Linked DNA regions of Homo sapiens: region 2 is linked to region 1. Evidence: promoter capture Hi-C in human tissues and cell types (Jung and others, 2019). All regions are on one chromosome and are shown on one strand. Each heading gives the region's core, a stretch centred on a gene start or on the middle of the fragment in contact. The rest is flanking DNA. Distances are from core to core; before and after follow the strand shown. Region 1 holds the start of DYNLT1 (dynein light chain Tctex-type 1). Region 2 overlaps ZDHHC14 (zDHHC palmitoyltransferase 14).

Region 1 (5,625 bases), core at 2,062-4,561:
CCAAAGTACTGGGATTACAGGTGTGAGCCACTGCGCCCAGCCACTGCTGGATATTATTGATGTTATTTATTGATGTGACAGTTCATTGATTGCTATGATTATTAGGCCCACACTTGCTAAATAAAGGTATTGGCAGCTCCAGTCCCACAGTCTGTATTCAAGAAATTTGACTCCAGAAAAGAAAGGTGATTGCACGCAAACCTGCCAACCTATCACTAACCTCCAAATTGAAAAACAAACCTAAGATTCACTCCACTGACTTACTGCATAGAAACTAAACATTATTCTAAAATATGGCAGAATGCCAAAGATTCATGAGCAGTTACGAGTAAAGGTGTCTGAGCTCCAATGCTTCTGATGGACATCCATTCGTGGCAGATGGAAGGTGCTGGAAATGGCATCTGGTGAACTGCCAAATGTCTTAACGATTTTAAATTCCTTAGCCCTACAGACTACATCAGTTGGGCAGAATATAATACCACATCACTGCATTTTTCCAAGCACTACAACATCACATAAGCCTAGAGAATTCAAACCCTCCTATTTACAGATATATCCGTTTAAAAGAAAAAATTCCATAAAGGCCATGTTTTAGTCAACTTTGTAGCCTCAACCCCCAGCTCAGAGCCTGACACAAAGGGAGTGCTCCATATATGTGTATTGAACAAGTGAACAGATAGTTGTGAAGATAAACAGACCAGCTCATCCGTTTACTGGCAGCCTCAAAATGTCATACATCGCGATCATTTAACAAATGTTCTTTAATAGTTAAAATTGGAGAGTGGTACCCAATGTATAAAAGCTAAAATCATGTAAGCATTTTTAAAATGCACATTTGCATGTTTTCTGTTGATTTATGTGCATGCTGGTGATCCGCAGTTATAACAAGATCCATGCATTAATTATGCACCATCCTAGCAGACATTCAGGAAATTGATTTAAATTAGGAAGTTCCTAAAAGGTTGTGGGGAAAATTGAAAAGGCTGTCCCAAGTGTCATGTTCTTCCATTGCAGGTGTTTGCTCAGAACCGGTTTACTCTTGCTTTGCACATAATTCTGTGACACTTAGCTACTGAACTCCAGGTCCACAACAAAGTAGCAGAAGAAAAAAGATTTCAGAGGCTCCTGATTGGCTCAGGATCGTGGTGGGGCCAAGAGCTTGGAACCAGGTAGGCAGAGAACATCCAAAACGAGATCTCAGGTGATACTGAGAAGGGCAGGCAGGCAAAGCAATGTCAGCATCAGAATCACATGTGGACTGAGGCGCACGACTGAAACACCAGGACAGGGGAGTTGAAGCCAGGTAATAAGAAAGGAATTCAAAAGGTAGATAAAGTTCAGAATCCAAGGAGAGGAAGACCAGGTGTGGTAAAGCAACCAGCCTGCCCAGCAAGTCTCCTCGCTCAGGCCGAACACCCAGGGCCAAGCAGCCTTGTGTCAGTCAGGGCTCTGCCCTCCTCTCGCCAGCCCTGTTTCCCTCAAGGAGGCAGGTAGTTGCATCTTCCTCCACTCCCCAGTTCTCTCCATTTGGGTCTGAGGCAAAGCTAACACCCATGAGGGAAATGATTCATGCAATAAATTTTAGGCCGGGCATGGTGGCTCACAGCTATAATCCCAGCACTTTGGGAGGCTGAGGCTGGAGGATCCCTTAAGCCCGGGAGTTTGAGACCTGCCTGGGCAACACAGTGAGATCCCATCTCTACAAAAGACATATTAAAAAAATAGGTGGGTGTGGTGGCTAGTGCCTGGAATCCCAGCTGCTCAGGAGGCTAAGGCAGGAGAATACCTTGAGCCCAGGAGTTCAAGCTCTTAGTGGTCTTTGGATGACTAAACTTCAACACATCTTAGCTCAAAATCTCCGATCACACCACTGCATTCCAGCCCGGGCAACAGAATGACACCCTGTCTCTAAATAAATAAATAAATAAATGTTAATTGTGTAGCTATTATGTGCCAGGCACAATGTGGAAGGAAGGGGATACATTAGTGAATAAAACAGATCCTTCCTGCATGGTACTTAGTTTCTAAATGGAGACACACCATCAACAAGCAACCATAAATACGTTCTTGCAAACTGAGAGAAGTGCTATGAGGAAAATGTACAGGATGCAGGGGTGGAGGATGAGGAGGTCGGCTACCTTAGATGCCGTGGTCACAGAATGGCTCTCTGTAGGAGATTTTGAGCTAAGATATGTTAAAAGTTTAGTCATCCAAAGATCACTAAGATTAGTCTATAGTCTGACAACTTAGTAACTATTGACTTATGGCAGGGCAGAATGGGTGAGGGGAGGGAGGAGTCGTTGGGTTAGGTTCCTCTTGAAGGGCTCTAATAAGACCCTGATAGACCGACCAGGTTACAGTCCGATGGTCATAATCCAGATGAGAGATATCAATCTTTAACTGGGGTCCCGAGCATATGGGGTAGAAATAACAAGGGTTGTTGATGGATTAGATGTGGGATTTGAAGTTTAGGTCTACCAAATCCCTGGGACCCTTGCAGTCAGCTCTTTCTTGGGGAATGGGAAGTGGGTTCCAGCAACCTGAATTCAAGTGCATGACGAAACCAGAAAAAGCAAACGCCAAAATCAAAACTCGGAGCCTCAGAATACCTGCCAATAGATGCATATGCCCCAGCTTTCCGTGGAGGGCAGTTTACCAGAGCCCAGTGCAATTCCTAATTTCCATAAAGAACCCACATACAAATAAAGTCTGTCTAGTTCACTATGGTTAAGGTAGTCAGGAAGTGTGCCACATTTTACAAAATTTTCCACCCAAAATGTTTTTTTTTAATGGTGCTTAAAGGAAAAATTCTCATTTACCTGGAAAACTTAACTCCCCAAAGGGAAGTTTCGTTCAGATAGCTAAAGCATGCCAATCCCAGTCCCCAAGGGAACTGCAACAACGTCTCACCGGGCGCACTGCCTTCAGCAGTCACTTTCGAGTTTGTTGCCAGGTGTCCGAGCGGGTTTGAACGTCCGCGTCAATCCACACAGTACAAACCGGAGGAGGGGCCGGGACCACGCTTCCCCTCCAGGACTGCCTTTTGTACGTGTGTTTTGTTTCTGTTGCTAAGGTTTAGGGAGCTGCCCGGCTACCCTCACGGATTCCCATGGAAACTACCACCTCCCAGAGGACAGGAGGAGAGGCGAATTCAGGGTCCACCCACGGGCCCCGCCCAGGGATGGGGTCACTGAGGGTCCGGGCAGCGAAGGGCGGGGCCCGGGAGCTGGGCATGGGCGAGGCAGGCGCGAGAGGAGAGGGGCGTGGCAGGTCCGGGGCGGGGCCTGAGTGCGCCTGCGCAGTCCGCGCCACTCAGGGAGCCGGAGGGGACGCGCCGGAGGAAAGATGGAAGACTACCAGGCTGCGGAGGAGGTAACCGCCGGGTCGGCGACGGAAGGGTGGAGGCCTAGAGCCCTGGCCGCGGAAGGACACGCGGTCCTGCCCGGAAAGGCCTGGCTGCCCACCTCCTTCAGCTAGGCCAGTCTCGGCAGCCCACGGCCTGAGCTTCCCGGTCGCCGGCGCTCCGCCCGGCCCCATTCTGCCCGGACATTGCCGCCGTTTCCCCGGCGCGGGGGGCGGGAAGGGGATTGAGCTTCTTCCCGCGCGGGGAGGCACCGGGCGTGACTCGGAGAGAGCGCCCCGGTGAGCGGTGCCGAGAAACCTTCCCGCAGGGCCTCGCCTCCGGCCCGCAGCCAAGCTCGCCGAGAGGATGACATCACCGCCCCTTGCTCTGCGGGGCTGACCCCAGCCCCAGCCCCAGCCTGGAGCGGGGCGCGGCGGCCGGGCTGGGAGCGCCGAGGCTTGGACGTCTCCCCGCGGAGGTGCGGGTGACGCTCCCGCCGCCAGCCCCTCCGCCCCGGGCTGGCGTCCCGGCCATCCCGCGCCTTTGTCTCGGGCCTCACCTGGTTCTGCAACGCTGGGAATGAGTAGCACATTTCATTTCCGTTTAATATGTCTGTAAGAAAGCTCATTGTTGTGGGGAAAAAATCATCTTTTATGCCTCCTTGAGGAAGTAGGATAAAGCCCACGATGTCGCCAAGCAGAAGACACCCATCGGCACCGTGTGCGTTAAATGGCTTTCCTTCAAGCTCACGGTCATTCGGGGAATAGAGCTGATGGGCGCAGCTGAGATACAACACTCATTTTCTTCTTACTGAATAATCCTTGTTGAAATTCAGATAGAGCCCTATGGATTTATTATGCAGCCTGTCAAAAATATAAACTATAGATACATTTGGTAAGGTTGGATATCTTACCATTTATGAAATTTAGTGGCTGGGCGCAGTGGCTCACGCCTGTAATCCCAGCACTTTGGGAGGCCTAGGCGGGCGGATCACCTGAGGTCAGGAGTTCGAGAGCAGCCTGACCAACATGGAGAAACCCCGTCTCTTTTAAAAATACAAAATTAGCCGGGCGTGGTGGCGCATGCCTGTAATCCCAGCTATTCGGGAGGCCGAGGCAGGAGAATCCCTTGAACCTGGGAGGCAGAGGTTGCCGTGAGCCAAGATCGCGCCATTGCACTCCAGCCTGGGCAACAAGAGCGAAACTCCGTCTCAAAAACCAAAAAAAAAGAAAAAAATTTCGTTTAAGGAGGAATGTTTTCAGGGAAAATAAAACTAAAACTTAAGGACTGATTCTAGAGTTTCAGTTTTGATCTGATTTCCTAACTAGCACACACTTCCTGTGACAGTGGCATAATCAGTGTTTGAATGCTGATGGCAACCAAGTGAATAATGACGAGAAGAGCTGGTTCAGGAGCAGTTGGCAAAGAAAAAAGCCTTTCCCCTTAAACTGTTACTAATATAATATTGGAAAATGTCTTGTATTACAGTAATATCGAGTAAAACTTCTAAAAAAGAAATCGCTTTGTAAAGGAAAGCGCTTAATACTGCAGTCCGATTCTGACTCCCACAAATAAGGTGGCTAAGTGGCTTCATTATTCGAGATCTCAATCGCATATGTGTAAAATGAAGGGGCTGGACAGAGTGATGAGTGTTCTACCTGGGATGGAGGCCCTGGGAGGTGGAGACCATGGCTGTCTTGTAGTAGGCATGTCTTAGGTATTTACTGAATGGCCCGTTCTGGTCCTCCCACCAGCCTCTTAGCAGCCTTTTCTGCATCTCTTCTAACTTCGTGTAGATGCCTGGGCCTTTGTAACTATTCTCTCAACTCACCATTCATCTTTCTTGGAGACGTTAAAACTATCCACTGGATTCAATACAACTCTGCTTTCCACTAAAAATTCTTTAAAATGTCCCTCAACCTTTTTCGTACTGTAACCATATGGGAGGTGATACAGTGCCTTTCCTTTGTGATTAAGGTCACGGTAGTCACTTGGAAGGATCCTTTAAGCTTCCAGAAATGACTTAATCTCTAAGATATTGCAAATTGTTCTTCACTCAGTGAGTTGGTTTTGTTTCCAAGTCCGACTTCTGAGTACAGCAAGTGAGGTGGCTTCGGGCAGTCAGCTCCTGAACCCCCTAAAAAGAAAGGGCAGGGCCTGCAGTGGACAGCAGCCAGACAGGGAGGAAGACTCACTGCCAAGTCAGGGTTCTCTGCCTTGATTCCCTCAGGATGCACGTTGACTGAGGGCCCCAGGGGTTGCCCTCTCGAAGGCGTGTCCAG
Region 2 (5,625 bases), core at 852-3,351, 1.1 Mb after region 1:
CTTTAGGTCCAATTCCTTGTCCTCTAAATCTGTGCAGTCCAGTTTGGGAGCCCCTAGTCCCGTGTGCCTATTCTACAGAGCTCTGGAAGTGTGGCTAGTCTGAACTGAAATGTACTGTGTGACAAAAGAACGTAAAATCTTCCATTAGTACTCTTTTATACCAAATACACATCAAAATAATATTTGGGATATTCTGGCTTAAGTAAAATATACTATTAAAATTAATTTACTTTTAAAAATATGCTTTTTTACTTTTTAAATGTCACTGCTAGAACTCGTGCCGTCTCGCCTACGGCCTGCCTTACATTCCTAGTGGAGCTGCCACTCATCGTCCACCAAGGGTGTTATATTTGGGTTTGGTGAAGGCAGCAGAAGATTTTAGCCCACTTCTATTCTGCTAATTTCTACTGAATGTAAAGAACCACTCCCTCATTCACTCCAGGACACTTAGACTTCGAGTTTCCATCCTTAAAGGAAAATGAAGAGATTTTTAAAAAGTGGACGCTCCAAATTGTGGTGGTATGTAACATGGCATTCACCCACTTGGACTTGTGTTTTCTCCTAGAAAGCTTTATCTACAGTTTCTGAATAAATGGTGTTCGCTTCTGTCTATCTATGTCAGCCAAGTTTTTTCTCTAAAAGCCTTGGAAGGTAAATTTGGACAGATGAAAATTATGGGGAATTTCTTCCTTACCAAACATGGTGGCAGGAAGAGCCCTCATGGGACAACTCCACTCATCCCGGTGGCACCTCCGTCTGCTTTCCCTGTCCTCTCTCTAAGTACCCGCTAGGCTCTGAGTGCTGCCCATGTCAGACTTTCAACTACATGGTAGCCATCAATCAACTCATGTTTGTAGGCAATGATTCTTAATCTCAGAACTTATCTACCAGAAACACAAAATAAACAGTTAATGTATCTCCCATCCTTACATGTAAGTTTTCCAGGGCACAGAGGGAAGGGAGATACAGCTCCCCCAGAGCAGGCTGTATTTCCCCCCAGCCCTCTCCCACCCCCCAGCATACGAGTCTAAAGTAAAGAAGTGAGAAAGGTCACCGGGAAGGCAAAGGGTGAGTTGGTTTGATCATGACAGGGGTTCGGAGGGTGATTATTATGGCAGAGTCTCAGTAATATCACAGATGTGCATGTGGACCCCAAAGAGGACACCTCAGCAAAGTCCTATTTTCACAGAGTGTGTGAACATGTGGATGACCTGAAGGCATCCGTGATAAGGAAGATCCCATCCTTGCCAAACTCTAGTCAGGCATCTCTGAGTGCTCTTCCCAGCGAGGCCCTGATTTGGGGGCTTCTATGTCTGTTTCTGCAATGCTCAATTTTAGCAAAAGTCCTGCTGAGTCGAGTTAGCCAGAACCCTCACCCTCAATATCTGATCCCCTTTGCTACTCAATGGGGCTCCTCATCCCCCACCATCCCCCAGGGAATCTCTGACCACCCTGGCCTGCCTTCGCCTGGAATCTGGTTAGGTTGGTTTAGCCAGAAGCCCCCTCAGCCCTGAGGCTTCCTTTTAGTAGTCTTCCATCCACTGCTCCCAACTCTGCTCCTTGGCTGTAAATTCCCACTGTTCCTTGCTGTATTTGGAGCGGAGCCCAATGCCTCTTCCCTACTGCAAACCCCACTGCACTGGTCCCTATGACCCTGCATGGTCTCCCTGAATACAGTCTGCCTTCATGTTTTAACAAATGTCCTGAATAATTTTAACAATGAGGTGTGAGAGGTAATCAGGGACAGTCTGAGTGTGTAGTTTGGCAGATGGCTCTAGGTTAGATCAGATTCCCAGTCACAACTCCAGCCACCAAAAACTTGCAGATGTGTATTATAAGGCAGGGTGTAGAAGGCTCCTGGGGCCGCTAGGAAACAAGCTGTCCCTGAGAGGCTCTGCAGGGAAGGCCTGGCTTCTGAGGCAGCAGCCTCTGCTCTCTAAGTCCCCTCCTGGGCTCAGCATGGCTGGGACTCTTTTCCATGCCGTTGCACCTGCTCAGTCTTCCCAGGTCAGTCTCCTCCCAAACAGGTCCCGCCACACCTCCTTGCCTTGGTCCATTTCCTCCGTCCTCATTGAGTCCTTTGCTTCCTTTTGTTCCTGAGCTGCCTTTCATGTTACCTCCACACTTGGAATAAAAATGCCTCCCACTTCCCAAGCACAAAGAGCTGCCCACTCCCCTGATTAACATCCTCCAGGGGGGTTTTTCTCCTGAAAAGCCCATCTGGCCTCCCCTCCTCCTCACGCCCAGCACATCCACTGCAGAGGGCTGTTCCAGAGATTATTGTGCCCAATGTGCCGCCTGCCCTGCCCTGCCGACTCTGCATGAAGGGTTTCATCTCTGGCTTCCTTCTAAAACCCAACTGACTGACTGACTCACTCCCTCACTCACTCAAAAGAGCTACCGTTCCATCATCTTGCTTTATCCTCCCAAATACGCCAGTTACACTACTAATGATAGTAATATTCCAGTGAGTCATTGAAATATCTTATTTTGCAGTACCTACAGTTTGCTTGTTGAATTTACATGGGTGTGCACGGAGCTTTGCATTTTAAAATTAACAGAAGACGTCATTTCTTCTGTTTAAGCAGTGGAACCGTCGAAATAATCCTCTAAAGTATTTAGGTTCCCAGATTTTCACAACCAAGCAAAGGAGAAAGAGGGATTTATTTCTAGAATCATGGAATGATAACGCTGGAATGGCTCTTTGCACTCAGTGGGTCTATTTTACAGACACTGAAACTAAGGCCCCAAGAAGTCAACACACTTCTCAAAGTCATAGACTAAGTTCATATGGCTATTTTAAATATGTAATAATAAGGAATAAGACGCTATTTATCTCACAGGCACTGCAGGGAGGGAGGTGATTAAACAGAACGCTCAAAGTAGAGGAACTTGTAGCTAGCAAAACTCCTGAAAATACGACAGTCCTGGGAGTTGCAGTGGAGAGGAAGCAGAGGCTATGCTGTAGAGGAAGGTCACAGGAGGGACGTGGAAAGGCCCCAGGGCTGTGCTTCTCACATTCAGGTGACTCACCTGTGGTCTTGTTGCAATGCAGATTCTGATTTACCAGGTGAGTCAGGGCCCAAGAGTCTGCATTTCTAATAACTCCCAGGCGATGCTGACATTACTCTTCCATGGGCCTCAGTTTGAGTAGCAAAGATTTAGATATTCTGTTTCAGGAGCCAGGAAGTTAAAGGAGGGCTATATATACCTGGACTTGGAACCAGACCCCATGCCAGGGTCCCAGGCCTGTCACTGATTGGCTCTGTTGTCAGTGGGTGGAGTTACACCTGTCTCTGAGCCTCAGTTTACTCATCTGTAAACCAAAGGAGTTGTCCAGGGTGACCTCCATGACTGCTGAGGTCCCTTTAAGCTGGAATGTCCCATGACTCAGAGCCCTGCAGTGGCCAGCACCCCAGGAGGAAGGGAGGGGACACGGAAAGCTGTTGTGAGAGATGGACAGACCCACAAGTCATCACCTCTCTTGATGCCCTTGGCTGGGTAGGGGTGGGCCTGGAATTTTCACTAACATGCTCCAGACCACTCTCTCCATGCTTTGACTGTATTCTTGAACCATGCATGTGGTCCCAAGTTTTCCATCCTCTTCATGCCACTTGGTCCTTTACTCCCCACTACACCACAACCTCTGTGTTCCTTGCCCTCAGGATGACCTTCTCCTCACCCTGGTTATGCCATCATCCTTCCCCTTCCATGGCCCTGTATATAAGAACTGATTATAATCACAGTATATTCTGTGTTTTAGCAGAGCATGTCAACATTGCTGTACGCCATCATCGTGCCAGCTCAACACAAACTCTAAAGAAAGTGACATTGGTGCAGTAAGAGAAAGATAGACTTCCCCTTACCTGAAAGGAAGTGGTATCCTGGCTTTAGGGAGGAGTTCATCAATTCTACAGAGGAGATTTCACATCTTTACACAGGTACACAAACTACACAAAGAGGGACATTCAGGAGGGGAAACACTGTGGTCGCTAGAATCCCTATGTGACACCATGGTCTCTCTAGAGTGTCTGTGTGACACCATGTTCTCTCTAGAGTGTCTGTGTGACACCGTGTTCTCTCTAGAGTGTCTGTGTGACACTGTGGTCTCTCTGGAGTGCCTGTGTGACGCTGTGGTCTCTCTAGAGTGCCTGTGTGACGCTGTGGTCTCTCTAGAGTGCCTGTGTGATGCCGTGGTCTCTCTAGAGCGTGTGTGTGACACTGTGGTCTCTCTAGAATGCCTGTGTGACACTGCAGTCTCTCTAGAATGTCTGTGTGACACTGTGGTCTCTCTAGAATGCCTGTGTGACGCTGTGGTCTCTCTAGAATGCCTGTGTGACACTGTGGTCTCTCTAGCGTGTCTTGTGATGCTGTGGTCTCTCTAGAGTGTCTGTGTGATGCTGCGGTCGCTAGCTAGAATGACTATGTGATGCTGTGGTCTCTCTAGAATGCCTATGTGAACTTAGGAATTCACACTCCTAGGCTCAGTGCAGGCTGAGCACCAAAGTGTGATCTCATCAAGTGAAATAACCCCCTTCTCTCAATTTCTCTTCCTGTAAGGAGGAAAATGCCACTTTCCACCCACAAAGCTCTCTAGAGGACCAAGAAGACAATTCTGTGAAGGACGTCCACCAGGAGACAGGAGCTACAAGACAGCTTTCTGGAGCTGTCCTCCTAAGTCCCCATGCCAATCAGTGTATAGTAATGTCGCCAACTTCAAAATCACGGAAATATGTTTGCATCAGACAATGGCTTCAATTCCAACACATGGTACATTCCCACAAGTTTGGATTTCCATAGGAAGAATAAATAACACTGGCTTCCTTGAATGTCCTGGATGAAAACCACACATCCTTCCAAATCCTGTGGAAAAACATCTCTGGCTCCCTCCTTCCCTTAGAATCAGACCCTTCAAAATCTTGTGGTATTTCCCCAAATACCATAATTTTGAGTTGTGACATCTGGTTTCCAGTTCTCCCAGGCTGGGGTTTCTTGTTAAAGGGACATCGGAATCTCGACATCCCGAGCTGCCACCCTGACCTTGTGCAGGAGTCTCACTGCCCCACTTCCTGGCATCCATGCACTCTAGATGGTTCTGGCACTTCCCCCAGACAAGGAAGCTACATTTTTTTCTAGGATGTACCTTTTTAGAAGCCTTTGTCTCTTCCAGAAGGTATGTCCGGCACGATGGGACTCCCCCACTCTCCCTTGCCTCAAACATCACGGAACATCTAGACATCAGTGAGCGTCCCACTAGAAAAAGGCCCCTGAATCTTCAAGAAGCTCCAAGAGGGGAGTTAGATTGTCTGGAAATTCCCCGAAGTTCTTCCTGCTACACCCACTGGAGCCCAGGATTTGAGAACCAAGCCCGCCGGCCGCGGCATACTAGGCTCGGCTTTCTGTTTCGAAGCTCGAGGCTGTACCGGGGAGAGAGGATGTGGTCCATGGGAAGGGGAAGTGCCACTGCTCCAGGGAGCCAAGCATGGCTTCCTCAGGGCCTGGCTCCTCAGGCAGCAGGAGGTGGGCAGCACTGTGCAGCGGGTAAGAGCACACGCTGTGATATCAGATAGGCAGGTGTTGGACTCCCAGCTCTGGCCAAGTGACCTCTGGCAAACCCCTTTCCTC

What was found. The method cuts DNA at HindIII sites, captures the fragments that hold promoters and counts their contacts. A contact is called where the count stands out against the background at its distance.
Region 2: a fragment that was not itself captured here is called in contact with the fragment with the promoter of DYNLT1 in region 1 in 1 of the 25 tissues and cell types used here (lymphoblastoid cells).

What each region holds. Positions count from the first base shown.
Region 1 is chr6:158,642,429-158,648,053 of GRCh38, reverse strand. It overlaps DYNLT1 (dynein light chain Tctex-type 1), which reads left to right and starts at 3,311. Exons shown (of 5, transcript NM_006519.4): 1 at 3,311-3,372. The coding sequence starts at 3,346. It also overlaps a transcript of SYTL3 not described here. RefSeq lists silencers at 3,154-3,383, 3,544-3,873 and an enhancer at 2,997-3,940. The HindIII fragment of the contact is 14,460 bases long and covers 1-5,625 here.
Region 2 is chr6:157,549,021-157,554,645 of GRCh38, reverse strand. All of the region lies in intron 2 of ZDHHC14 (zDHHC palmitoyltransferase 14), which reads right to left. Among named protein-coding and RNA genes, the nearest start is that of MIR3692, 23 kb to the right of the region's middle. RefSeq lists an enhancer at 1,603-2,425 and a silencer at 4,283-4,483. The HindIII fragment of the contact is 3,701 bases long and covers 251-3,951 here.